7 separate regions of the Homo sapiens genome follow, and all the other regions are linked to region 7. Evidence: promoter capture Hi-C in human tissues and cell types (Jung and others, 2019). All regions are on one chromosome and are shown on one strand. Each heading gives the region's core, a stretch centred on a gene start or on the middle of the fragment in contact. The rest is flanking DNA. Distances are from core to core; before and after follow the strand shown.

Region 1 (3,755 bases), core at 538-3,037, 180 kb before region 7:
GAGAATAGCTTGAACCTGGGAGGCAGAGGTTGCAGTGAGCTGAGATTGCGCCACTGCACTCTAGCCCAGGCATCAGTGCGAGACTCTGTCTCAAAAAAATCAGCCAGCTTGTTTTTGGCACAGCTAACGATTTCCATTTTTGTCTATTTTAACACAGAGATCCATGATTCTTACCACTGGACCAGTTTTTCCTCATTTTTATAAAATAAAAAACCCAAAATGCAAACACTTAAATAACTGCACAAACACTTACTATATATAACTTATAAAATGCATAATGCATAAATGAGCAAGACCATCTGTTTCTATGGATATCCAATAGCCAAAAGTCACCTTGCTAAATTCTACACCCAAGGCAACAGCAGCCCATCTGAGAAATTTGCTCCTTCTGGGAACTATCAACATCATTCAGCATGAGCAATTTAGTTGATTATATATTTTTAAAAAGCAGACTATAAACAACAGACAAGGCTATACCCGAGCTTCCCCTCTAGTTCCACTCCCCTTCTTTTCAAGCCCTACCTTAAAAAAAATAATAATAATCAAGCAACAAAAAAAAAATCCTCAGATTAATCTATCCATTTCATTAAGACCCTTGGACCACAGTTTTGCATTATATTTAACCACACGTGCCTGGGTAAACTTTGTTTTTCCTAAGTCAGTAAAAGGAACCAGACTGGGCCTACAATCTGGCCTAAACTCTACATATATTTTAAACTCTAATACGCCCACTTTGTTAACGTTCAGCTGCTTCTCTAAACAAACGAAGTCCAAACTTGAGGTAGGTCTACACGTAAGCACAGTGACAAGAGGGGACTGTCAAAAGTACACTGCGCAGTGCAGTGGTGTCTGCATGAAGGCAAGAGGTGGTATCCTAAAGCTGGTGGGTAGGGCTGAGCAAGGTGGGCATTTAGGGTGCAGATCAACTGGAATGAGGATGGAGTCCCCAAAGGCGGGCAGCCTGGAATGGTATAAACAGGATGTGCAGAGGTAGGGTGTGGAATCCATGCAAAGGGTGGCTGCACAATATCACAGTGGGGACTGAGGAGAGATGATACCGTATCACAGCAACGGAGTGCCTCATAGGGGTTCAACAGAAACGTGTGGAGTAAATGATGGAACAGTGCACCTATACTTAACGGCATTTAATAGTCTTTACAGGCATGTTAAAGGCTGCCTGAACCAGTCACTAAGCCCACAATTCTATGGTCTCCATCTCTTTGGGGCAAGTTAAGATACTCCTGACTTGACTTCCTGAATTTCCATCATGCCGCCTTTTAACAGCACTGACCCGGTTAGGCAATCAACTTCTCTGACTTGGAATTGCATCAACACCTTACTACCACCAATAAACCTCTTCTCTACTCTTCTCTAAACCACAGGACTGTCAAGAGCTTTTCAGTGTAAATCATATCAGTTCTAGCTAAAACTCCGTCAAGAGATCCTCCAAACCTTTAAGAAGCTGGCCTGCCTTTCTAGTTTCATTTCTCTCTGCCCCAGGACAACACTTGTCACAGTCAGGCAAATCTCCAAAATTAAGTGCTGGATTTCCTCTCCACATCTTCACACCTTTAAAAATGAAAATGCTGGCCGGGCGCAGTGGCTCACGCCTATAATTCCAACACTTTGGGAGACCAAGGCAGGAGGATCACCTGAGGTCAGGAGTTCAAGACCAGCCTGGCCAACATGGTAAAACCCTGTCTCTACTAAAAACACACAATTAGCCGGGTGTGGTGGCACACGCATGTAATCCCAGCTACTCGCAGGGCTGAAGCAGGAGAACTGCTTGAACCCAGGAGGCAGAGGTTGCAGTGAGCCAAGATCACGCCACTGTACTCCAGCATGGGCAACAGAGCGAGACCTCTATCTCAAAAAAAAAAAAAAAAAAAGGAAATGCTATCATTTCTTCTGTCTAGTGTGCACTTATGCCCCTGGTCCAGCCAGCAAACTCCTACTCATTCTTCCACATTTCAATCAAATGTCAACCATCTTCAACTCTTTGTTTCTACCTAGGAAAGCTAGCACCTTCTGCTGAGTCCCAACGGGAACATCAGAATACTGACTCAGTGGTACATGGGAGATGCTTGATGTAAAAATCATATGAGTCAACTGTACTCTTCTCCAATAAGTGAACATTTTTCAGTTTCTCAGTCTGCCACCCTCCAGATTACACATGATGGCAGATTGTACTTCATTCACTCCTTTGTTGCTGAAATCTCAAGCCATGGTTTCATCAAGTAATTTTCCATGATCACTTAATATTTAAACTCATTGTTCTAATCTATGTTATTGGGAATTATTTACGCTTCCTCAACATGAAATGTCTCTCTACAGGCCACATTTTCTAGGCATATCCCATAAGTTATATCTCTCATTAAATGGGTTTTACTTAGACACAGCCCAAAAAAACTAGTATAGTATTAATGTTTTAAGCGTTGAATTACAGTTTATTAAATGAAGCAGCCTACAAAGGCAGACAGGTGTGGTAAATATTGTCTGGAGACAAGAGATCTAGCTAAAACTTGGCTACTGTAATAACTGGCTATGGGACCTTAAACACTTGACTTTACTTCTGTAGACCCCAGTGTTTCTACCTCTAAAAAGGAAGAGTTGCCTAGGAAAACTACACATAAATTATTTGCTCACATGTTCATTTTTTCTGTCTCTCCATTACAGTATGAGATTCCTGAACCTTTCACTCCTGGTACATTCCCAGACAAAAAGCTGTTCAATATAAAACGTAAATGAAAACTCAGTAGATAAACACGAATTCCGTATAATCTGAATTGAGATACTTTTGGACAGAACTTGTTACCACAAATCTAAGATTCACCTAAAAGAATAAATATAGAGCCAGGTACACTGAAAAGAATGAAGTCCAGGCACAAAGTATGTATGAGTTTAATGTAAGTGAAGGAAAAAATATAATCCAATAATTTCAGTTGAAACAACGATGTAAAAAAGGAGAAGACGACAGAAGACATCAGTCTGTTTGTAATGTGGGGGTGGGAGAGGGGTTCCTAGCATGACAATACACCAGATAAACTGTGGCATAGCTAGACAACGGTATATTATTCAGCACTAAAAAGAAATGAACTATCCAGCCATGAAAAGAGACAGTGGAACCTTAAATGCATATTGCTAAGTGAAAGAAGCCAATTTGAAAAGGCTACATACTATATGATTCCAGCTGGAAGGCATTCTACAGAAACAGTAAAACGATCAACAGTTGCCAGGGTTTAGGAGGCAGAGAGGGAGATGAACAGGTGGAGCACAGAGGTTTCTTAAACCAGTGAAACGATGATAACTACATTGGTGGACAGGTCATTATACATTTGTCGGAATCCACAGAACATACAACACAAGAGTGAAGCTTAATGTAAACTATGAATTTCGGGTGATAAGAATGTGTCACTGTAGGCTGCTTGATTGTAACAAACGTATCCCTTTGGTGGACTCCAGCGCAGGATGTTCACACTGGGGGAGGGTGTGGGTGTGTGGGGGCAGAAGATAAATGGGCACTCTGTACCTTCTGCTCAATTTAGCTGTGAAGCTAAAATGTCTCTAAAATATAAAATCTATTTTAAACAAGAAAATAAGAAATGTATTAAGGGGCAAAAATCTTCACTATTGCTTTTTTTAAAATGACAGCTTGAGCCCAGGAGTTCAAGGCTGCAGTGAGCTATGACTGTGCCACTGAGCTCCAGCATGGACAACAGAGCCAAGATCCTCTCTTAAAATGTATGTATTTTATT
Region 2 (3,811 bases), core at 1,196-3,695, 250 kb before region 7:
TTCCATGCACCCAGGACCACATGCCATAAAATCACATTATGTGAAATGTCCAGAATAGGCAAGTCCCTGGAGACAAAAAGTAGATTCGTGGTTTACAGGGGCTGGCTGCGGGGAGGAAGGGGTGACTGCTAAGAAGTGCATGGTTTCGTTTTGGGGTGATGAACTTGTTCTAAAATTGATTATGATGGTAGTTGTACAACCTTGTAAATAACCACTAAATTGTACACTTAAAAGTAGTGAATTTCATGGCATGTGAATTATATGTAATTTTTAAAACAAACTTTCACCTGGATGGGTGTGGGCGACAGTGTGAGCCCTGGGTTAGAATCCCAGCTCCCCCACGTTCCAGCTGTGGGACTCTGGGTGACTTCCTTCAACCTCTGTCCTGCCCTTTCCCCAGCTCTGGATGTCAGCAACGCCTGGGGCTGGTGTGAGGATGAAGTGAGCTCCTTCGTGAGCCGCGCTTGGTGAAGAGTTCAGGCCAAACCCCCATGGCACCCAAGGCAGGCAATGCTGGTGGCTGTCTGGCCGATGTGTGCACTGGTGAGGTGGTGGCTGAGCTCACGGCTGGACTGAGGGCGATAGCAGGAAGAGAGGCCCGGCTCCTGACGAGTCCACACTCACCAGGCCACCTGCTAGACACGGGATGGCAAGGGGTGGCCCGAGCTACACTAAATGGACTGTCTGGGCAGAGATGTCTTCTTCCAGGCCCTCCAGACTTCTACAAAGTAGCCTTCTCCTCCTACCAGAACCTCAGGTTGCCCAGACGCTGGAGGGCACAGGGACATCTGAGGGTCCCACCACGACAGGCTAGAAGTGGCTCTTTTATGAAAACCTTTGTCAGAACAAGCGAGGGGACATGGGTGACAGCCTCACAGGCCACCCAACAGCCACCCCTCCTTCCTTGCTGACAAAGCCCAATTTTGTCCTGTGGTCTAGGCATTGCCCTGTGTGCCTCAGGCATAGGCTCTGATTGGCTAAGCCAATGATTCTCCTAGACAATGATTGGCTTAGCCTGGGGCATGTGACCCAATCCTAGCCAATGAGATGTGAGGGGTGGCTATTGAGGAATGCTGGGAAAGGCTTCTTGGCTGATAAGAAGACAGAGGCAAGGCCGGGTGCTGTGGTTCACGCCCGTAATCCCAGCACTTTGGGAGGCCGAGGCGGGCGGATCACGAGGTCAGGAGATCGAGACCATCCTGGCTAACACGGTGAAACCCCGTCTCTACTAAAAATACAAAAAATTATCTGGACGTGGTGGTGTGTGCCTGTAGTCCCAGCTACTCGGGAGGCTGAGGCAGGAGAATGGCGTGAACCCAGGAGGCAGAGCTTGCAGTGAGCCGAGATCGCGCCACTGCACTCCAGCCTGGTAGACAGAGCAAGACTCCATCTAAAAAAAAAAAAAAGAAAGAAAAGACAGAGGCAAAGATGCCTTCCCTGCTGCTGCTGATGGTTGGGTCAAAAGAAGACACACAGAATCCTATCTACTGAGCTTGGCAGAGATAAAGGGTGAGAAAATGGCCTTCAAGATGCCACCAAGAGCCAGCCAGATGTGGTGGCTCACGCCTGTAATCCCAGCACTTTGGGAGGCTGGGGCGGGTGGATCACTTGAGTTCAGGAGTTCGAGACCAGCCTGGCCAACATGGCAGAACTCCGTCTCTACTAAAAATACAAAAATTAGCCGGGCATGGTGTCTCACCCTTGTAATCCCACCTACTCAGGAGGCTGAGATGGGAGAATTGCTTGAACCCGGGAGGTGGAGGTTGCAGTGAGCTCAGATTGCACCACTGCATTCCAGCCTGGGCAACAGAGAAAGACTCTGCCGGAAGAAAGAAAGGAAGGAAGAAGAAAGAAGAAATAAGGAAGGAGGGAGGGAGGGAGGAAAGGAAGAAAGGAAGGAAGGAGGGAGGGAGGGAGGGAGGGAGGCAGGGAGGCAGATGCCACCAAGGGGCCAAACTGGTGAGCCTAGAGCCAAGAGTCCTTCCTTGGAAAAGGCCACTACTTTCCTTATCACGCAAGCCATTTGTGTCAGGTTTCATACTTGCAGCTGAAATGGTCTTAGCCGACACAGTGGGCGAGATGCAGGGAACCCGGGCCCCAGTGCCTAGCGGGGTTCTGCTGAGGTGGGGTGTTTAAGCAGCATAGGGATACAGGTAGGCATACTTTCCAAGTAGGAGTCTAACTAAGCCTTTTGGTTGTTTACTCCTGGGAACCCAGTCTATTTTAGTGCCTTGGACTCTTCTCAAAGGTGCCCCAAGAACCCTCGAGAGTCCTGAGTTAGTGTCACATCCTTCTCTCCGGAGGGTCCCTCGGGGAGGAATTTCCAGAGGGAGGACATACAGAGGCATTTGCTCCAGCCATGGGGAGCCCAGGGTCCGGTCTTGCAGTTTGGGAGTCCCCTTCGGGAGGCTGTGGTCTCGTAGCCTCTGGCCTGTCCTGGGAGTCAGGAGGCCAGGGGCTGGCTCCACCTCTGCCTCAGTTTCCCTGTAATCAATGAAGAGGAGCAAAGGATTGCTGTGTCCCCCCATCTCAGATGTGCTCTGATTCCGTGATGATGGTGGACAGAAGGAACACAGAACCCCTGCTCCCTCTTTTGGAGAAGAACTCATTCATTTATTCCATAACGTCCATCAAGTTGCTAAGGCTCTGAAAGGAGGCAATGCTTCCGCCGCCTCTTAAGATCACCCAGGGCCCTCCATGCTCGGGAGGAGAGGAGGGGTCTTCAGGCAGCAGACCCAAGATGGGCTGTGGCAGAGAGATACCAGGGTGCCATGTGCTCAGGACACAGAGGGCCAGTAGGGAGGTCAGGGGCAGGTCTGAATCCTATCTGGAGGGGTCCAGGCAAAGGCTGCTGAGATGTGTGATGGGATCCTTGGATCCTCTTCAGGAAGGAAACTCCTGGTAGTGTGGACCAAGGCAGGCGCAGGCAGAGTGGGTGGCCACTGTGGCCACCAGTCAGACCGGAGGACAGTGATGTCAAGGGTCTGAGTAGAGGCCAGGACTCCAACTGGCAAGTGGGTCATAGGGGTTGGTCTGAGGTGGGCTCAGGATCTGTCATTGACAGGATTTGATGATCAGCTGGCTGTTGGGGGTTGCTGAGGCTGCAAGCGGTCTGGCTGGCCCAGACACCCAGGGCAGGGGGCCTAAGGAGAGTGGGTCTGGGAGAAAGGCCTGTGAGGAGCTGGGTCGTGTGCAGCTTGGGGCTTCTGTAGCACATCCTGGGAAGACCCCAGAGAGATGCAGGGCTGCCGGGGGAGCTCAAGGGTGGGGGCCTTTCGGGTGAGGGCAGGGAACCTGAACAGGGATTAAAAATCCACCGTGAGCCCCTCACGGGGCATTCCTTTCCAGCAGGATGCAGTGTCCTGGCCAGGGCCTGGTGGGTCGTCAGGGCCCTGAGCTTCCCTCAGTTTCCATGAGCCTGAGCGCCCTGGAGGAGGGAAGAGTGAATCAGGGGAATGGAAATCAAGCCCCGTGGCATGCACAGCCAGCGACCATGCATCATTTAATTTGGGGTTGCAAAAATAACTCAGCCTCTCCCCTGAGGTGCTGGAATTCCCCAGTCTTCGAGTGGGGTTAACTTTAGTAAGAGTGAAATTCAGCCAGGTTGGCGGAGGACAGTTTCCAAGTCTCCTCAGGCCGGCTCTCGCAGTCTGGTGACTGTGTCCAGCCTGCCTCCGTTCTCCTCATTGTCAATGGCCATTGTTGGAATTGCTCCTTCCCGTGACTTCACCTGGGAAGTGGCCTCACCCTTGAACTCAGGACCCCAGACAAGGAAATGAAGCCTCTAACACAGCACAGCCACCACCTTCTG
Region 3 (3,570 bases), core at 297-2,796, 160 kb after region 7:
AATCTTTATCTTTGGACACCGAAATTAGAATTTTGTATAATTTTTATGAGTCACAATCACTATTGTCCTTTTGGTTATTTTCAACCATTTAAAAATGTAAAAACCATCTTAGCTTATGGGCCATACAGAAATAGGCTATGGGCCAGAATTGACCTGTGTTCCAGGGATAGTTTGCCCATCCCTGATACAGCACGTAAGAGACTAAAGTGTTTGTTTAATGAACTAATAACTAAATTTCAATACCTACCATACTGGCCACCAGATGTGAAGATAACACCACCTTATTTCTTTGCTAGGCACAGGAAATCAGGTTTTACACATATTTGAACTTGGATAACTGAAGCTTACCCATAAACATTTAAGATCTTTATATTTTCACCTTTTTGTTTGTTTGGAGACAAGGTCTCGCTGTGGAATGCAGTAGTATGATCACAGCTCACTGCAGCCTTTACTTCCTGGGCTTAAGTGATCTTCTTGCCTCAGCCTCCCGAGTAGCTGGGACTACAAGCATGAACCATCATGCCCGGCTAATTTTTAAAATTCGTTTGTACAGACGGGGTTCTCATGTTGGCCAGGCTGGTCTCGAACTCCTGACATGAAGTGATCTTCCCACCTTGGCCTCCCAAAGTGCTGGGATCACAGGTGTGAGCCCTGGCGCCCTGCCTTAGCTTTTCCGTCATGTCTTGTTTTGGCTTCAGGATCCTGTATGACATCGAGTCCCCTTGTTTCCTCAGGCTCCTTTTGGCCGTGACAGTTTCTCAGACTTCCCTGTTTTTGATGACTTTGACAATGTTGAGGGATACTGGTCAGGTATTTTGTAGAACATCATGAGATTTATCTGATGTTTTTCTCCTAATTAGACTGAGGTTACGGGTTTTGTTCAGAGGAGGACCACAGAAGTAAAGTGCCATTTCTATCATGTCATATCAAGGGCACGTACTGGATATACTGTCATCAGGACTTTTCTTTGGGTCCCACCTATTGCCCGGGCTGGTCTCAAACTCCTGGGCTCAAGCAGTGCTCCCACCTCAGCCTCCCAAAGTGCTGGGATTCCAGGCGTGAGCCACTGTGCACAGCCAGGACTTTCCACTGCTGAAGTTGACCTTGATCACCTGGCTGGGCAGTGTTTCCAGGTTCCTCTGCTGTGACGTTGCTCTTTCTCCTCCTCCCACGCTGTGCTCTTTGGCAGGAAGTCACTATGCATAGCCCACACCTGGGGGTAGGGACGTATTCACCACCTGCTTGAGGGTGCAGTATCTACATAAATTATTTGGAATTATTCTGCGTGGGAGATTTGTTCCCTCCCTCCCATTTGTTAATTTTTTTTTTTTTTGAGATGGAGTTTCACTCTTGTTGCCCAGGCTGGAGTGCAGTGGGGTGATCTCTGCCCACTGCAACCTCTGCCTCCTGGGTTCAAGTGATTCTCCTGTCTCAGCTTCCCAAGTAGCTGGGATTACAGGTGCCTGCCACCACACCCAGCTAATTGTTGTATTTTTATTTGTTTTTTTTTAATTTTTGTTTTGGCCAGGCGCAGTGGCTCATGCCTGTAATCCCAGCACTCTAGGAGGCCGAGGCAGGTGGATCACCTGAGGTCAAGAGTTTGAGACCAGCATGGCCAACATAGTGAAACCCCATCTCTACTAAAAATACAAAAAATTAGCTGGGGGTGGTGGCAGGTGCCTGCAATCCCAGCTACTTGGGAGGCTGAGGCGGGAGAATCACTTTCGGAGGTTGCAGTTAGCCGAGATCAAGCCACTGCACTCCAGTCTGGGCCACAGAGTGAGACTCCGTGTCAAAAAAAAGAAAAAAAGAAAAAGAAAAGTGGTTTGGGAATAAGTTCTCATTCTATGTTCAAAACCAAAAGTTGATTTTATAGGGTATTATTATTTTTCCTATTTTCCTCTATCCGTTATAGAGAATGGTTTCCAGACCTGGTCTGTGTCTTTCATAACTTTGACCTTCTGGGGGTTTCATGCACCGTTCTTCCTAAGCTGGGCTAACATTTCACTGTGGTCTGTGTTTGCTGTGGGAAGAAGCCACCGATGTTGAAATGTAAGGGCCTGCTGTTTATGCACTGTTCATTCAGGGCTGCACGTGCCTATGTGACTTGAATTCTTTATTGATGGCTGAGCTGCAGGATTGAGCATGACTTCTTGCCTGGGGTCAAGGCTCCAGAATTTTCCTTAGTCTCCTGTTATCAGCTTTTCTTAGAATCAGGTGGCACCAGGGAGCTGCTGCAGGACTCACAGGAAAGAGCAGAGGATTGGGTGTTAAAACTTGGTGTCGGCTGGGCGCGGTGGCTCACGCCTGGAATCCCAACACTTTGGGAGGCTGAGGTGGGCGGATCACAAGGTCAGGAGATCGAGACCATCCTGGCTAACACAGTGAAACCCCAGCTCTGCTAAAAGTACCAAAAAAATTAGCCAGGCACAGTGGCGGGCGCCTGTAGTCCCAGCTACTTGGGAGGCTGAGGCAGGAGAATGGCATGAACCCGGGAGGCGGAGGTTGCAGTGAGCGGAGATCGCGCCACTGCACTCCAGCCTGGGTGACAAAGCGAGACTCTGTCTCAAAAAAAACAAAAACAAAAACAAAAACAAAAAAACTTGGTGTCAGAAGGCATGGTATCGAGTTCTGGCCTCATCCTTCCTCAGCTCAACCTTAAGCAATTTCCCAGCTGTGAAACGGAAATGACAAGTCCTGCCTCTTGGGGTTGGGCCAAATAAAATATCAAACCTTAAAAGATTTGGGAAACTACTTAAGTAAAGTCCTTTAAAAATTAACGTTAGCTGAATTTAGTGCTTGCCACTTCCAATGTAATTGGAGGGTGGTTGGAAGGACCAAGTAAAGGAATTAAGATATTTGACAATTTATATATCTTTTCTTATTTCCCCTTTTTCATATTTATGTATGTAAAGTCAACTATACTTAGGAGTTCAAAATTTGGTCTTTATAGACCTATGCTACTTAAATCTGAAATCCTAGTTACTTCACCCATTAATTTTCTTTATCCAACCCTTATATATCTCCAAGTAGGTGCTTCACAAATACTAACTCACTTAATCCTCTTCACCAAGCTGTGAAAGTAAGCCCGCCATTGCCCCTATTCTGTGCTGCCTGGTGTGTGCAGTGGGGTTGGTTTAGTGTCTCCCACAAGTAGCCATACACATCATGCAGTTACAGGGCTTAGGACAGAGCCTGGTCCACACTGAGGGACCGTCAATGGCAGCTTGCCACGTTTCCTTCCTTTCTGCGTGAAGTGTGTAGGGCTCCCTTTCTGTGTTGCCATTTTATAAACAAGGAAGTCAAGGAGGTTTCCGTAAATAAAGGCAGTTAATAAGAGAGAGTCAGGCCTGGTGCGGTGTCTCATGCCTAGAATCCCAGCACTTTGGGCGGCCGAGGTGGGCGGATCACGAGTTCAGGAGATCAAGACCAGCCTGGCCAACATGGTGAAACCCCGTCTCTACTAAAAATACACAAATTAGCTGGGCGTGGTGGCACATGCCTGCAATCCCAGCTACTTGGGAGGCTGAGGCAGGAGAATCGCTTGAACCAGGGAATCAGAGGTTGTAG
Region 4 (3,738 bases), core at 164-2,663, 200 kb after region 7:
GCTCCTCCTCCTCGTCGTGGTCGCTGCTTAAATGTCACTTACTCAGCGAGGTTTACCCGATGCCCCCATTTGCAATCGCAACCCGCACCCAGGATCCCTGCGGTTCCCGGCCCGACCCCCCTCCATCGCTTATTCCCGCTGCTAATCGTCGGCCTCCCACCGCTAGAGCGAACTCCAGGAGCAGTGGGCTCTATTTTACCAGCACCTAAACAGTGCTTGGCACACAGCGGGTGGTCAGTCCAGGTCTCCTGAAGGAAGCCGAGTTGATCGACCCTTGTGGGTGCAACCGTGGCATTCCCGGGACTTCAAGCCACGCGTCCCGAGTGGGCAGAGTGGACGGGGCGCGCCGGGGCCGGGGCGCCGTGACTGACGTCAGCCGCTAGAGGGCACCTGGGACCTGCGCCATCAGCTCCGAACCCAGGCTTAGGGCGACCCACGTGCAGCTGCAGGGCGGGCGCGGGCGAGCAGTTTTCTTTCCTCCTCTGGACCTCTTCCTCCACTTCTCACCCCGTCTTAGAGCTCTTAGACAAACAAACGCTAATTTTCATTCTCTGAGTGACGAAAACACGAATCTACATACTTTCAGAATTAAGTGGTAGAGAATACCATTCGGGCTTGTTTTCTTGCTTTTGTTTTTGTTTTTGAGACGGAGTCTCGCTCTTGTCGCCCAGACTGGAGCGCAGTGGCGCGATTTCGGCTCACTGCAACCTCCGCCTTGTATTTGTTTTTTGTTTTTTTAATGTGGGGCGGGGGGCCCATGTGCATTTTAAATAATCCATTTTCTTTAAACTCAACTTACGAAATGTTTCATTCTGTTTATAAGTTGGAACCTTTGGTCTGACAGTAACGACCCGCTGTGTTAGTTTCCCAGGTCGGCCACAGCAGAGTATTATAAGGTAGGTGGCCACACAACAGAATATATGGCCTCACAGTTCTAGTAGGCAGACGTCCAAAGTCAGGGTGTCGGGAAGGTCGCTTCCTTCGGAGGCTCCCACGGAGACCGCCCCAGGCTGTCTCCTGGCTTCTGGTGGATTTCGGGCCAACTTTGGCCTTCCTTCGCTTGTAGAAGCTTCACTCTGATCTCTGCCTGCATCTTCACATACTGTTCTCCCTGTGTGTCCCTATGTCCAAATCGCCCCTTTTGTGTAGACGCCAGTCATAATGGACTAAAGTCACTCTGAAGACCTTTTTTTTTTTTTTTTTTTTTTTTTTTAAGACGGAGTTTCCCTCTTGTTGCCCAGGCTGGAGCGCAATGGCGCGATCTTGGCTCGGCTCACTGCAACCTCCGCCTCCCGGGTTCAAGTGATTCTCCTGCCTCAGCCTCCTGAGTAGCTGGGATTACAGGCATTCACCACCACGCCCGGCTAATTTTGTCTTTTTAGTAGAGATGGGGTTTCACCATGTTGGCCAGCCTGGTCTTGAAGTCGTGACCTCAAGTGATCCACCTGCCTTGGCCTGGAAGCACGTACATTATTGCGAAGTTTTGACAAAGTCTCAAAAGTCTTTTTTATTTTGTTTTTGAGATGGAGTTTCGCTCTTGCCACCCAGGCAGGAGTGCAATGGCGTGATCTTGGCTCACTGCAACCTCTGCCTCCTAGGTTCAAGCAATTCTCCTGCCTCAGCCTCCCAAGTAACTGGGATTACAAGCGCCCACCACCAAGCCCAGCTAATTTTTGTATTTTTAGTAGAGACGGGGTTTCACCACGTTGGCAAGACTGATCTTGAACTCCTGACCTCAGGTGATTTGCTCGCCTCAGCCTCCCAAAGTGCCGGGATTTTGGGCGGAGCCACCGCGCCAGGCCCAAAGTCTTTGTTAGATGTAGGAAAGAGCAGTAGAAGGCCAGGCGCAGTGGCTTACACCTATCATCTCAGCACGTTGAGAGGCCTTGGCGAGCAGATCGCTTTAACCTAGGAGTTTGAGACCAGCCTGGACAACTTGGAGAAACTCCATCTCTCCCAAAAATAAATAAACTAATAATAATAATAATAGGCTGGGCGTGGTGACTCACGCCTGTAATCTCAGCACTTTAGGAGGCAGAGGCGGGCAGATCACCTTTGGTCAGGAGTTCAAGACCAGCCTGGCCAATGTGGTGAAACCCTGTCTCTACAAAAATACAAAAATTAGCTGGGCGTGATGGCGGGTGCCTGTAATCCCAGCTACTTGGGAGGCTGAGGCGGGAGAATCGCTTGAACCCGGGAGGTGGAGGTTGTAGTGAGCCGAGATGGGACCACTACACTCCATCCTGGGCAACAGAGCAAGACTCCATCTCAAAAAAAAAATAGCAATAATAATAATAAGCAGTAGAAGACAGGGAACTGGAAGCCACGAACTAGGATCCAAGCCCAGGGGAGCCACCAGCAAGTGAGGAACCTTGGCAAACAAAGCCCTTTTCCTCTCTGGGTCTCCAAGAACAGGCCACATGGCTTCTATAAACTCAAGTAAGCAAGGATTCTCTCTCACCAGCCCGTTTAATTTTATCAAGAGTTAAAGGTTGTCCTGGATCCTCAATAGTCATTTAAAATTGGGCTTGCCCCTGCCAGAAAGGAATGACAGAGCAGGTGACAAGTGGCAGGTGGCATTGCTTCTTGATTATCCAACAAGTATGTATGTATGTATGTATGTATGTATGTATGTATGTATGTATGTATTGAGACAGAGTTTCCCTCCTGTTGCCCGGGCTGGAGTGCAATGGCACAATCTCAGTTCACTGCAACCTCCACCTCCCGGGTTCAAGAGATTCTCCTGCCTCAGCCTCCCGAATAGCTGGAATTACAGGCATGTGCCACCACGCCCGGCTAATTTTGTATTTTTAGTAGAAATGGGGTTTCTCCGTGTTGGTCAGGCTGGTGTCAAACTCCCGACCTCAGGTGATCCTCCAGCCTTGGCCTCCCAAAGTGCTGGGTTTGCAGGCGTGAGCCCCTGTACCTGGCCCCAACAAGTATTTATTGAGCACCTGCTCTGCCAGGCCCTGTGTTAGACTTTGAGTAAAAATCAATGAGCATTTGTAGAGTATTCATCATGGACACGTGGACATCTCATTTAATCTTCTACTACCTTTTACCTTTTTTTTTTTTTTTAGTGACCAAGTTTCACTCTTGTTGCCCAGGCTCGAATGCCATAGCACGATCTTGGCTCACTGCAATCTCTGCCTCCGGGATTCAAGCGATTCACTTGCCTCAGCCTCTCAAGTAGCTGGGAATACAAATGTGTGCCACCATGCCCAGCTAGTTTTTTTGTGTATTTTTAGTGGAGATGGGGTTTCACCTTGTTGGCCAGGCTGGTCTCGAACTCCTGACCTCAGGTGATCCACCAGCCTCGGTCTCCAAAAGTGCTGGGATTACAGGCTTGAGCCACCATGCCCGGCCTTCTACTACCTTTTGTAGTGGGTATTTTTTTTTTTTTTTTTGAGACAAAGTCTTGCTCTGTTGCCCAGGCTGGAGTGCAGTGGTGTGATCTCGGCTCACTGCAACCTCCGCCTCCTGGGTTTGAATGATTCTCCTGCCTCAGCCTCCCAAGTAGCTAGGATTACAGGCGCCCACCACCATGCATGCCCGGCTGATTTTTATATTTTTAGTAGAGACAGTGTTTCACCATGTTGGCCAGGCTGGTCTTGAACTTCGTCTGAAAAAACTCCGTCTCAAAAAAAAAAAAAAAAAGAAAGAAAAAGGCTCACCGGAACCTCCACCTCCCAGGTTCAAGCCATTCTTGAACCTCAGGCAATCCACCCACCTCAGCCT
Region 5 (3,376 bases), core at 662-3,161, 200 kb before region 7:
CCACTTTGAAAAACTGTTTAGCTCTCAGGTTGAAAGAAAGCCAGACATAAAATAAACAGTACCACATGACTTTCATTTATATAAAATTCAAAAATGGACAAAAACAACTTATGGTTTTAAAAATCAGAACAGGGCCGAGTGTGGTAGCTCACACCTGTAATCTCAGTACACTTTGGGAGGCTGAGGCGGGCAGATCACTTGAGCTCAGGAGTTCAAGACCAGCCTGGGGAATATGGCAAAACCCCGTCTCTACCAAAAACACAAAAAATTAGCCAGGTGTGATGACAAGCGCCTGTACTCCCAACTACTTGGGAGGCTGAGATGGGAGGATCATTTGAGCCCCGGAAGCAAAGGTTACAGTGAGCCAAGATCGCACCGCTGCACTCCAGCCTGGGCAACAGGACAAGACACTGTCTCAAAAACAAAATAAAATTAAAAAAAATCAGGGCCGGGCGCGGTGGCTCACGCCTGTAATTCCAGCACTTTGGGAGGCCGAGGCGGGTGGATCATGAGATCAGGAGATCGAGACCATCCTGGCTAACATGGTAAAACCCCGTCTCTACTAAACATACAAAAAACAATTAGCTGGGCGTGGTGGTGGGTGCCTGTAGTCCCAGCTACTCGGGAGGCTGAGGCAGGAAAATGGCATGAACTGGGGAGGCAGAGCTTGCAGTGAGCCGGGATCGCGCCACTGCACTCCAGCCTGGGCGACAGAGCGAGACACCGTCTCAAAAAAAAAAAAAATCAGAATAGTGGCCACCTACAAGGAGGAGTCAGGTAATAAAAGAGGGGTGGAGTTGCTGAGGGAATGCAACATTCCATGGAATAGTGACCAGGAGGGAAAATGCATGGGCCTGGGGGCAACATTCCATTTTTTGATCCAGATGCAGGTTACTAGGGTATGTTCATATTGTGAGAAATCATGGAGACACAGACACATATATAATATAAATATGATATTCATATGCTTTGCTATATACTTCAGAAATACTTTCAGATCACACTATATCCATACACTTCAATTTATATGTTCATTAAAAAGAAAAACAATGGGCTGGTACTTAAGATCTGTCCAATTCCTTCGAAACAAAATGCTCCTTTGAGATTTGCGGAAAGAGAACATTCACATATATGAATAACAGAAACACCTCTAAAGTGCTAATTAATTCTTTTACATCCAAGACCAGGCTTATGAGTACCTGTCGTTTGACTGAAACCAATTCCATGTCTAGTTGTCTCAGCACCGTGGTAGCAGCAGTGGCATTGGCAGAAACAGCCTCCACATCTTCTTGAGAAAGAAACATTCCTTTTGGAGGTTTCCTTTTTGCTCTATTTTTAGCTTGTGTGCTATGTTTTTCTTTTTTGACCTGAGGAACTGTCTCAGTAGGGGGAACCTGCATGATATACACAGGTGATGAATGAAACTTAAAAAAAGTCAAATGATCAGTAATAAACATATTTATTTCCTTAACATGGCACCAAAACAATCTAAGACAAATACCATGCCCTATCAGAACCAAATGAGATCTATAAATTCTAACAGGCAGTTCACAGACAGAATTTGGGCTACTGAGTTTTGACTAAACACAATGAAACTGTGTTCCACTCCTTCTTGTACAAATACTTCCTTACTCTATCGTTTCAAGCCAATGAAAATAAGAATTCTCAGCTTCCTCTAGTAATATAGAAAGAAAAAAATCTGTATTCTCTGCTAATGAGTTTTGTGGCCACACACACATCTGTATTTAGCTACATGAAATTACAGCTTTTTATACACATTTTTGGATAACACAATTTTTACGGCAACTTATATAACTTACTCTAAAATAATATACCTTATCATTTTAAAATGCATGACGGCTATTAATTTCTGTAAAACCAAAACTTTCAGAAATGAAACACAGTAAAATCTTGTCAAGTTAAAGAATATAACTTACTGGTAACCATTTTAAGAACAAGAAGTTTTTATAATTGCTCATAATTCCATCTTGTTAGTGCATTAGCATTCACTGATAAAGCTGAAAATATGACTTTCTGCTTCATATTTTAAAAGACTGAGCTAAAGACACTGCAAAACTATAATGGTAGTGATAATTTCTTCAACAAGTGGGTAATACAAAAATATTAGTAGGCAATAAACTGCTGTGTATGGGACTACGATGTTTAATAAAGATCACCAACTGACTACGTCTGTTCTAGTATCATTTTAATACTTAAAAAAACTACGGGCCAGGTGGCTGGGCATGGTGGCTCATGCCTGTAATCCCAGCACTTTGGGAGGCTGAGGCGGGCGGATCACGAAGTCAGGAGATTGAGACCACCCTGGCTAACACAGTGAAACCCCATCTCTACTAAAACTACAAAAAATTAGCCAGGTGCGGTGGCGGGCGCCTGTAGCCCCAGCTACTTGGGAGGCTGAAGCAGGAGAATGGCGGGAGGCTGAGGCAGGAGAATGGCATGAACCTGGGAGGCGCAGCTTGCAGTGAGCCGAGATTGCACCACTGCACTCCAGCCTGGGCGACACAGTGAGGCTCCGTCTCAAAAAAAAAAAAAAGAAACTACGGGCCAGGTGTGGTGGCTCACGGCTGTAATCTCAGCACTTTAGGAGGCCGAGGTGGGTGGATCACTTGAGGTCAGGAGTTCAAAACCAGCCTGGCCAAGATGGTGAAACTCCGTCTCTAGTAAAAATACAAAAATTAGCCAGGCATGGTTGCGGGCCCCTGTAATCCCAGCTACTTGGGAGGCTGAAGCAGAGAACTGCTTGAACCTGGGAGGCAGAGGCTGCAGTGAGCTGAGATCGGACCACTGCACTCCAGCCTGGGCAACAGAGCAAGACTCCATCTCCAAAAAAAAAAAAAAAAAAAAAAAACAATGATTTAGCCATTTTCTTTCTGAATCAGAAATTATATAAATAAGAATTATAAAAATGTATGAAATCAAGTGTTTTCTCTCATTTAAAATGTGCCACTGAAAAACCTAGTAAATAGCAATACATCAACACAAAGCTTAATAAAAACTACAACTACAATTTGATTTCCCAAACAATCTAATTTAGCTAACCCTCAGGATCTTATTTGGGCATTCATATAAATTATGCAGAAAAAAACGACCAATTTCCAATTTGGTGATATACAACCAAAAAAAAAAAAAAAAGCCTTAACAATGTATCTAGAACACGTTGACTCAACAATACAACTTCCAGGAATCGGTTCTAATGAAAAAAATCTATGAGCACAGATAGTGAGTTATGTGAGAATCAATCCAGCATTGTTTATAAAAGCAAAAAACAGGAGGAATAAACAACTGGGAAATCCACATAGGATAAGGTAACTCAATTATGAAACATTCATGTGACAGAATAATATATAGCTACGTA
Region 6 (3,861 bases), core at 335-2,834, 160 kb before region 7:
AATAAGATGTATACAATAAAGATATTCTTAAAATCAGGTTAACAGGCATTTAAAGAGAGGAAGATCTTGCTTTGTAACACTGTAATATTTCACTGTTCTTTGCAAATCCCAGTGTTAAGCAGACAAATACTATTTTGTGTACATTGTGAGAAACCCTTCACTGTATGATTTGATGTTACCTGATACAATGTCTGTGTTCAAATTTAAAATCATCTAGTCCAACACTAAGGAAAATACTCTTCTAGTATATTTTCAGTTCTACTCTGAAACTCTGAGTTATTTCTCACTCTATAATGCTATATTTTACTTGTCAACTGTTTGGGAGCAGAACAGCAATTTACATTTACATTCCCACCAGCAGGGTATGAGAGTTCCAATTTCTACACATCCTCACCAACACTTGTTATTATCTGACTTTTTGATTCTAGCCAGCAGGTGTGAAGTAGTCTCTCACTGTGGTTTTGATTTGCATTTCCCTGAATAAAGAGGTTGAGCATATTGGATAAGTTTATTGGCCATCTGAGTATCTTCCCTGGAGAAATGTCTATTCAGCTCTTTTGCCTGTTTTTAGTCAGATTATTTGGCTAAAATGTTGGGAATATAAAATGGTGCCATTCCTCAAAAGATTATCATATAACCCAGAGGCCGGGCGTGGTGGCTCACACCTGTAATCCCAGCACTTTGGGAAGCCGAGGCGGGCGGATCATGAGGTCAGGAGATGGAGACCATCCTGGCTAACATGGTGAAACCCCGTCTCTACTAAAAATACAAAAAAAAATTAGCTGGGTGTGGTGGCGGGCGCCTGTAGTCCCAGCTACTCGGGAGGCTAAGGCAGGAAAATGGCGTAACAGGAGGTGGAGCTTGCAGTGAGCCGAGATCGCACCACTGCACTCCAGACTGGGCAACAGAGCGAGACTCCATCTCAAAAAAGAAAAAAAATTATCATATAACCCAGAAAATCCACTCCTAGGTATACAGCCCAAAGAAATAAAAACATATATCCACATAATAATTTGTATATAAATTTTCATAGCAGCATTACTCAACAGCTAAAAGGTAGAAACAACCCAAATGCCCATCAACCGATTGAATAAAAAAATGCAGTATGTCTATATGACAGAACTTTATACTGCCATGAAAATAAAACACTAACACATGCTCAGTATGAAACTTGAAACACTATGCTAAGTGAAAGCAGCCAGTCACATGCACAAAAATCCACAGCCTATTGTATGATTTTATTTACATGAACCGTCCAGACAGAAAGATGATTAGTGATTGCCAGAGGCTGTAGGGCATTTGAAATAACAGGGTGCCACTGCTAACAGGTACAGCATTTCTTCATGGGATGATAAAATGTTTTAAATTTGATTTGTGGTGATAGTTACACAACTCTGAATATACCGAAAACCACTGAATTTTGCATATTTTAAATAAGTGAACTGCGTGTTTTGTTAATTTTATTGTAGTAAAGCTGTTATTTAAAAAGCAAGGCTACTCAGGAGGCTGAGGTGGGAGGATCAGCTGAGGCCAGAAGTTCAAGGCCAGCCTGGGCAACACAGTGAGACCCTATCTCTGAAAGTTTTTAAAAGTTAGCCAGATATGGTGGTAAGCACCTGTAGTCCCAGCTACTTCAGAGGGTGAGGCTAAAGGATTGCTTGAGCCCAAGAGTTCAAGGCTGTAGTGAGCTATGATCACCCTGCTGCACTCCAGCCTGGGCGACAGAGGGAGAGACCCTGTCTCTTTAAAACAAACAAACAAACAAAACACAGAAACTAACTGGAAGGAGAAGACAGGTTACTCCACAGCCATTAGAACACCTGCTTGGGTTCCCACATTCTCATAACCCCCTCCCCTATACCCTAAAAAATCACATTAAGTCTGTGGAGTCGAGGGGAAGAGGGAGTTGTGTTTCTACCATTCAGGGTCCAACCATATCCTCAATGACCTGAGTCAGAACAGAAAGATGAACACAAGAAAGAGAATGGCCAAATGGATAAACACAGAAGGGGAAGCGAAAACAATGAGAACTGAAACAAATGGTGAATATGCTTTTCTTGCTATCAATAATTATAAGATAGGGCTGGGTGCGGTGGCTCACACCTGCAATCCCAGCACTTTGGGAGGCCAAGATGGGTGGATCACCTGAGGTCAGGAGTTCAAGACCAGCCTGGCCAACATGGTGAAACCCCATCTCTACTAAAAATACAAAAATTAGCCAGGCATGGTGGCAGGTGCCTGTAATCCCAGCTACTTGGGAGGCTGAGGCACTAGAATTGCTTGAACCCGGGAGGCAGAGGTTGCAGTGAACTGAGACAACACCGCTGCACTCCAGCCTGGGCGACAAGAGCAAGACTCCATCTCAAAATCAATCAATAAATAAGTAAAATAAATAAATATATATATATATATAATAATCTTGTCATTTTAAGACACGCTCACAATTACAGGTTTTAACAACATGCCTTGTTTTCTACAATCCTAAACTCTACTTGAAATGTTTTAATTTTACCAGAAGCTTAAGGAAGAGGTATGAAAACAGGAGTAGCACAATAAGCTATGAATTAAATGCTACCTTCTTGCTTAAATTCAGAACAAGAAAACTGAAGCTGAAAAGTATAAACAGAGAACTGTATATATATTGTGTATATTTATTGTGTATATATAGGGTCATTACATTCACATTCATAGTACCGTTACCTTCATGTTATCAAACCATCTTTAAGTTAGCACTCATAAATAGGACAGCTGTTTGGTTTGCTTTAAAATTTAAATTCTATCCCATTATAGATGTCATTGTCATACTCTAATACCTATATAAAAAGGACACATGAAACTCCAAATTACTCATCAGTAGGACTCAAAAAGATAATAAATAAAGCTTTTTAAAAAGGTAAATTCTGGCCGGGTGAAGTGGCTCATGCCTGTAACCCCAGCACTTTGGGAGAGGCCAAGGCAGGCAGATCACTTGCTGTCAAGAGTTTGAGACCAGCCTGTCCAACATGGTGAAACCCCGTCTCTACTAAAAATATAAAAATTAGTCGGGCATGGTGGCACACACCTGTAATCCCAGCTACTCAGGAGGCTGAGGCCGGAGAATTGCTTGAACCCAGGAGGCAGAGGTTGCAGTGAGCTGAGGTCACACCACTGCACTCCAGCCTGGGGTACAAAGCAAGGCTCTGTCTCTAAATTCTTATAATTCTTATTCTTAAATGTATGGACTGGCCACCCATACTTTCAATATATCCTGAGATGCTACGCATGAGTAAATTTAACTTAATTATGTTAGGGACCAAAAAACGTTTTATGACTCCAAAATTTTTGGCTTCTGACGTTGGGTAATCAAAAAGATAGAAATCAAAGGGAATGGCAAGAGTATATATGATTACTATTGCTGTAACAGTTATAAATGCTTACTATGTGCTAGGCACTGTGTACTTTGACGTGCCTTAGTTCATTTCAATCTTACGACTATCCATTTTATAGATGAGAAAATTAAAGCACAGAGAGATGAAGTAAGCTGCCCAACATCACACCTATGAGCAGTGAAGCTGAGTCGAAGCTTAAGGAAGAGGTATGAAAACAGCAGAAGACAGAGTCGGTGGTGTTAACCATTATGCTACAATGCCTAGATTTTAAAGACACCATACATTATGATCAAAAACCAAAGAATGTAAAGAACATTTTTCCTCCCCATGATATCCACATTAAGTATTTTAGCATTTAAGTTAAATGGCTTAAGAATTCTCAACTGACAACAGTTCACTCTCTATAAAATGAGGAAGTCAGAAGCAACTTTGGTATTTCAATACCTGTATCTTTTCTTTTCTCTTTTTTTTTTTTTTCAGACCGAGTTTCACT
Region 7 (3,626 bases), core at 92-2,591:
TCGTTGGGCTGGGGACAGAGGCCTGCCTAGGTCTGTTGAGAGGGCCCAGGTAAGACTTCCACCCAGACTGACTGGCTGGGGCACACAGAGAAGCCAGGACAGGGCTGATTGTGTGTGCAGGGGCGTGCCCTCTGGACGAGGCCCCTCCCACCGGGGCGAGGCAGAGGCCTTGCTTGGTTGGAGCGGAGTGGGGGAGTGGGAGGGTCTCCCTGGTGAGATAGTACTGGAAGGGCAGGGACAGCATTCTAGGGAAGGAACCAGAAAGAGCCCCTGCATGGAATGTGGGGATTTCACCATGAGACCCCGGCTGCCTGGCCTCTGAGAACGTGTGTGGGGGGATTCCAGGTGGAAGGTCGTGTCTGGGAGGATGGGTGGGGGGTTGAGCAGTCATTGCCCCTCTCCAGATCTGCGTCCACATCTGTAAAATGGGCCTAGAATTCCCAGCCGCTGGGGGCGAGTGAGGCCATAAATTAGTTGAGATGGACCCAGGCTCCTAAGCCCCCTAGGTCATGACCCCAAACCTTGGAACCCCCGACGGAGACGGTGGGGGTGGCCGAGGCCCAATCGAATCTATCCCGCCCAGATGTGGGAAGAACCGCAGGGCAAACCCCCGGCTTCCCTCCTGGCCGCTCCTCTCTTTGAGGCCACCTCTCTGAGCCCTGATTTGCTGGCGGGTGAACTGGGGATCATCGTGTCCACTGTGGCTGGTGGTCGTGAAACGAAGTGGAAACATGAGTGTTGAGGCCGAGATGGGCGCAGTGCGCGCTCCTAAACAGCTGTCCCCATCCGTCCGCCCCTCCCTCCCTTGCGCGGGTCAGCTGGAGCGGGGGCGCGCCAGGCACGACCCTGGCCGGGCAGAAGGCGGTGGAGCCCTTAGGGGTCGCGGCTCCTACCCCCGGCCCTCCCATGTGCAGATGGGGTAGCAGCCTGGAGGTTTTTCCCAAGGTCACGTAAGGTCAAAGAAAAGGGGAGCTGGACGCGACGAGGAAAGTCACGCACGGCGGAGGGCGGGCCACCTACGCGCGCGCCCGAGTTCGCAGAGCAGCGGCGCCCTCCCGGGCTAGGGCAGCTCGGAGCTCGGAGCCTTTCTTCGCCCGCAGCTCGGGTTCCGGGAGCCCCGCCCCCGCCCATCAACGCCCCGCCCCTTTCGCCACGGCCCCGCCCCTCCTCTCCGTTCTCCCCGCCGGCGCTCCCTCAAGTTTCTCCGAAGTTTTCCGCGGGTCCAGCGGTGCGCCCCGCCCGCCGGCCAGTGACGTAACAATGGTGCAGCGCGGCGGCCAATGGGTGGTGGCGGGGGCCGGCGGCGCGGGCCAATGGCGGCGGCGGACGGTCCCGCTGTCCTGCCTGGCCGGGGCCGCACTGCGCCGCCCGCCGCCCGCCGCCCGCCGCCCGCCGCCGGCGACGGCACCGCCGCCCTGCGATCCGGCCGCGGCGGCTCAGAGCGCGGCTGCGGCGGGCGCGGGCGGCGGTGGCTCCCTCCCGTGCGTCCGTCGTGGGACCTTTGCCCGCTCGCCCGCGGGGGACAGCGCGCGCTCCGGTCCGCGGCAGGGGCGGGGACGCCCGGCCTGTGGCCCCCGCGCCCCCCATGGTGAGTCCCCGTCCCCCGCGCCGCGCCCGCGGCCGCCGCCCCCTCCTCCTCCGGCACACGCGCACGCAGGTGCAGCCCTCGCTGCGCCGGCCACCTGCGCGCGGACGCCCCGCTCGGCCCCGCGACCCTCCGCCGCCCGACGTCTGGCCGTGCAGGCCGGGAGGGGACGGGTAGGAGGTGGCGGGTGGCCCCGGGCGCGGCGCTGCCTTCGATGGCCCAACCCCCTTATTCACGAGCCGCGGCCGTGACTCTGCCCGGTGACGTGGGGAGGCCGAACTTTACGTAACCCGCCCGGCGCCCCACGCGTGCCGGCACAGGGCATATCTGGGGCCCGGAGGCCCAGGCTTGGGGAAGGGGCTCCAGTCACGGTGTTGCCCACGGGCCACAGCCTACCCGCACCGCGCCGCTCTCTTTAACTCAGTTACTGCCAGTGATAGTGACCCAGTCAGTGTGTGTGGACGCGGCCTGCCTTCTGTCCCAGGCCCCTTGTGACCAAGGGCTTACCCTTGAAAGAAGGCAGTAGGGAGGTTGGGACGGAGCCAGAGGTCAGACGCCTAGGCTCAGGTCGGGGCTGGGGACTCAGAGGGCAGGGTCAGGGCCTAAGCTCGATTGCCTGTGGGTTGGGGGTCCCCACCAATTCTGGAATGAGCCCAAACTGAGACGCAGGGGACCTGAGTTCTAGGCCTGGCTCTGCCGTGGCTTGCTGACCTTGGAGAATTGGAGAAGCTTGTGCCCTGCTGGAAAGTGGGATGGCAGTACCCGCTTCATCTAGTAGTCGGGGAGATCAAGAGAGGTATGGGACCTGAAGAGGATGGCAGACTGTGCAGTGCGGTGCACACCGGTCTCCAGGTTGTTTTCACCCTCCTATCTCCTCCCAGGAGCTAACGTGTAAGCAAACATGTTTGGATAGAGGGCTGGTGCCACGCCCCAGGCTCACCCCGCCCGCACAGCCGTCGTCCACCCCTCCCCTTTCTTACAGATAAAGCTGAGGCTCGGCCAGGGACTGTGATATACCCACATCCCCGGAACTAGGTGATCGCGGTGCAGGAACCAGGTAGGTCTGAGTCTGGATCATGCCTCTGAACAGCCCAGGAAGAGGCTCCAGGGGCCTCCAAGTGGTCTGGGGTCGGAGATCAGGGTCAGGGTTGCGCTTGGGCTGGAGAGTGGATTTGCCTCAGCTTGAGATGTGGGCCCAAGCTTTCTCATCCCCTCCCTGGCCTTTTCTTTATTTGGGGTCGTATGAACCTGGCTTAGGTGGGAACAGAAGCTCTTCCAGTGGGTCCCTGGGTTGGAGAGGGGAGGGGAGATTTGAGGGCATGGGCAGCAAGGGCATTTCCAGCAGAGGTGCCAGAGAGCAAGTCAGTTTCAAGGAGGGAGAACAGGTACAGCTAGATCAAGGATGGAGGCGGTGGTTCTGGGCGTCGGAGAGATGGAGCTGTAGGGTGACTGGAAGGGCCTGGCCGAGGCTGGAGGTAGGTACAGGCCTGGTGGGCCAGGACCGGAGGGGCTGTGTGAGGGGCAGAGGGGAGTCCCCGGGCCTCCCCAGTTTCCCCGCGCCTCACCGTGGCCTCTTCCTTTCCCCGCAGGTGTGCCTTCGCGGGATCCATGCCTTGAGGCCCAGGAACGCCCCGCCGCCAGCATGCCGTGGGACGCGCGGCGGCCTGGGGGTGGCGCGGACGGCGGGCCCGAGGCCTCGGGCGCGGCGCGCTCGCGAGCGCAGAAGCAGTGCCGCAAGTCGTCGTTCGCCTTCTACCAGGCGGTGCGCGACCTGCTACCCGTGTGGCTGCTGGAGGATATGCGCGCCAGCGAGGCCTTCCACTGGGACGAGCGCGGGCGCGCCGCCGCCTACTCGCCCTCTGAGGCGCTGCTCTACGCGCTCGTGCACGACCACCAAGCGTACGCGCATTACCTGCTGGCCACGTTCCCGCGGCGCGCGCTCGCACCGCCCAGTGCCGGCTTCCGCTGCTGCGCGGCTCCCGGGCCGCACGTGGCGCTGGCAGTGCGCTACAACCGCGTGGGCATTCTGCGCCGCATCCTG

What was found. The method cuts DNA at HindIII sites, captures the fragments that hold promoters and counts their contacts. A contact is called where the count stands out against the background at its distance.
Region 1: a contact is called between a fragment that was not itself captured here and the fragment with the promoter of ANKRD9 in region 7, in 1 of the 25 tissues and cell types used here (IMR-90 fibroblasts).
Region 2: a fragment that was not itself captured here is called in contact with the fragment with the promoter of ANKRD9 in region 7 in 1 of the 25 tissues and cell types used here (mesendoderm cells).
Region 3: a fragment that was not itself captured here is called in contact with the fragment with the promoter of ANKRD9 in region 7 in 6 of the 25 tissues and cell types used here (H1 embryonic stem cells, dorsolateral prefrontal cortex, hippocampus and 3 more).
Region 4: a contact is called between a fragment that was not itself captured here and the fragment with the promoter of ANKRD9 in region 7, in 1 of the 25 tissues and cell types used here (heart right ventricle).
Region 5: a contact is called between a fragment that was not itself captured here and the fragment with the promoter of ANKRD9 in region 7, in 4 of the 25 tissues and cell types used here (IMR-90 fibroblasts, dorsolateral prefrontal cortex, hippocampus and 1 more).
Region 6: a fragment that was not itself captured here is called in contact with the fragment with the promoter of ANKRD9 in region 7 in 1 of the 25 tissues and cell types used here (heart right ventricle).

The regions. Positions count from the first base shown.
Region 1 is chr14:102,686,099-102,689,853 of GRCh38, reverse strand. The region is part of intron 3 of RCOR1 (REST corepressor 1); the gene reads right to left. Among named protein-coding and RNA genes, the nearest start is that of TRAF3, 89 kb to the left of the region's middle. The HindIII fragment of the contact is 4,511 bases long and covers 1-3,755 here.
Region 2 is chr14:102,754,578-102,758,388 of GRCh38, reverse strand. It overlaps LOC124903390 (a long non-coding RNA gene), which reads right to left. Exons shown (of 2, transcript XR_007064356.1): 2 at 1-3,811. Among named protein-coding and RNA genes, the nearest start is that of TRAF3, 21 kb to the left of the region's middle. RefSeq lists enhancers at 306-565, 93-593, 3,486-3,655, 3,726-3,811. The HindIII fragment of the contact is 8,282 bases long and covers 1-3,811 here.
Region 3 is chr14:102,350,901-102,354,470 of GRCh38, reverse strand. All of the region lies in intron 3 of CINP (cyclin dependent kinase 2 interacting protein), which reads left to right. Among named protein-coding and RNA genes, the nearest start is that of CINP, 10 kb to the left of the region's middle. The HindIII fragment of the contact is 9,147 bases long and covers 1-3,570 here.
Region 4 is chr14:102,311,015-102,314,752 of GRCh38, reverse strand. No RefSeq gene overlaps it. Among named protein-coding and RNA genes, the nearest start is that of TRI-AAT5-4, 4.2 kb to the left of the region's middle. RefSeq lists enhancers at 97-176, 70-570. The HindIII fragment of the contact is 3,723 bases long and covers 1-3,274 here.
Region 5 is chr14:102,712,441-102,715,816 of GRCh38, reverse strand. RCOR1 (REST corepressor 1) reads right to left here. Exons shown (of 12, transcript NM_015156.4): 8 at 1,200-1,394. Among named protein-coding and RNA genes, the nearest start is that of TRAF3, 63 kb to the left of the region's middle. The HindIII fragment of the contact is 8,777 bases long and covers 1-3,376 here.
Region 6 is chr14:102,669,294-102,673,154 of GRCh38, reverse strand. All of the region lies in intron 2 of RCOR1 (REST corepressor 1), which reads right to left. Among named protein-coding and RNA genes, the nearest start is that of RCOR1, 79 kb to the right of the region's middle. The HindIII fragment of the contact is 3,276 bases long and covers 1-3,222 here.
Region 7 is chr14:102,507,491-102,511,116 of GRCh38, reverse strand. ANKRD9 (ankyrin repeat domain 9) reads left to right here and starts at 1,341. Exons shown (of 4, transcript NM_152326.4): 1 at 1,341-1,588; 2 at 2,271-2,476; 3 at 2,568-2,642; 4 at 3,175-3,626. The coding sequence starts at 3,228. LOC105370679 (a long non-coding RNA gene) reads right to left here and starts at 1,074. Exons shown (of 4, transcript XR_007064352.1): 1 at 1-1,074. RefSeq lists enhancers at 1-623, 624-1,267 and silencers at 748-797, 958-1,397, 2,392-2,553. The HindIII fragment of the contact is 3,197 bases long and covers 1-2,550 here.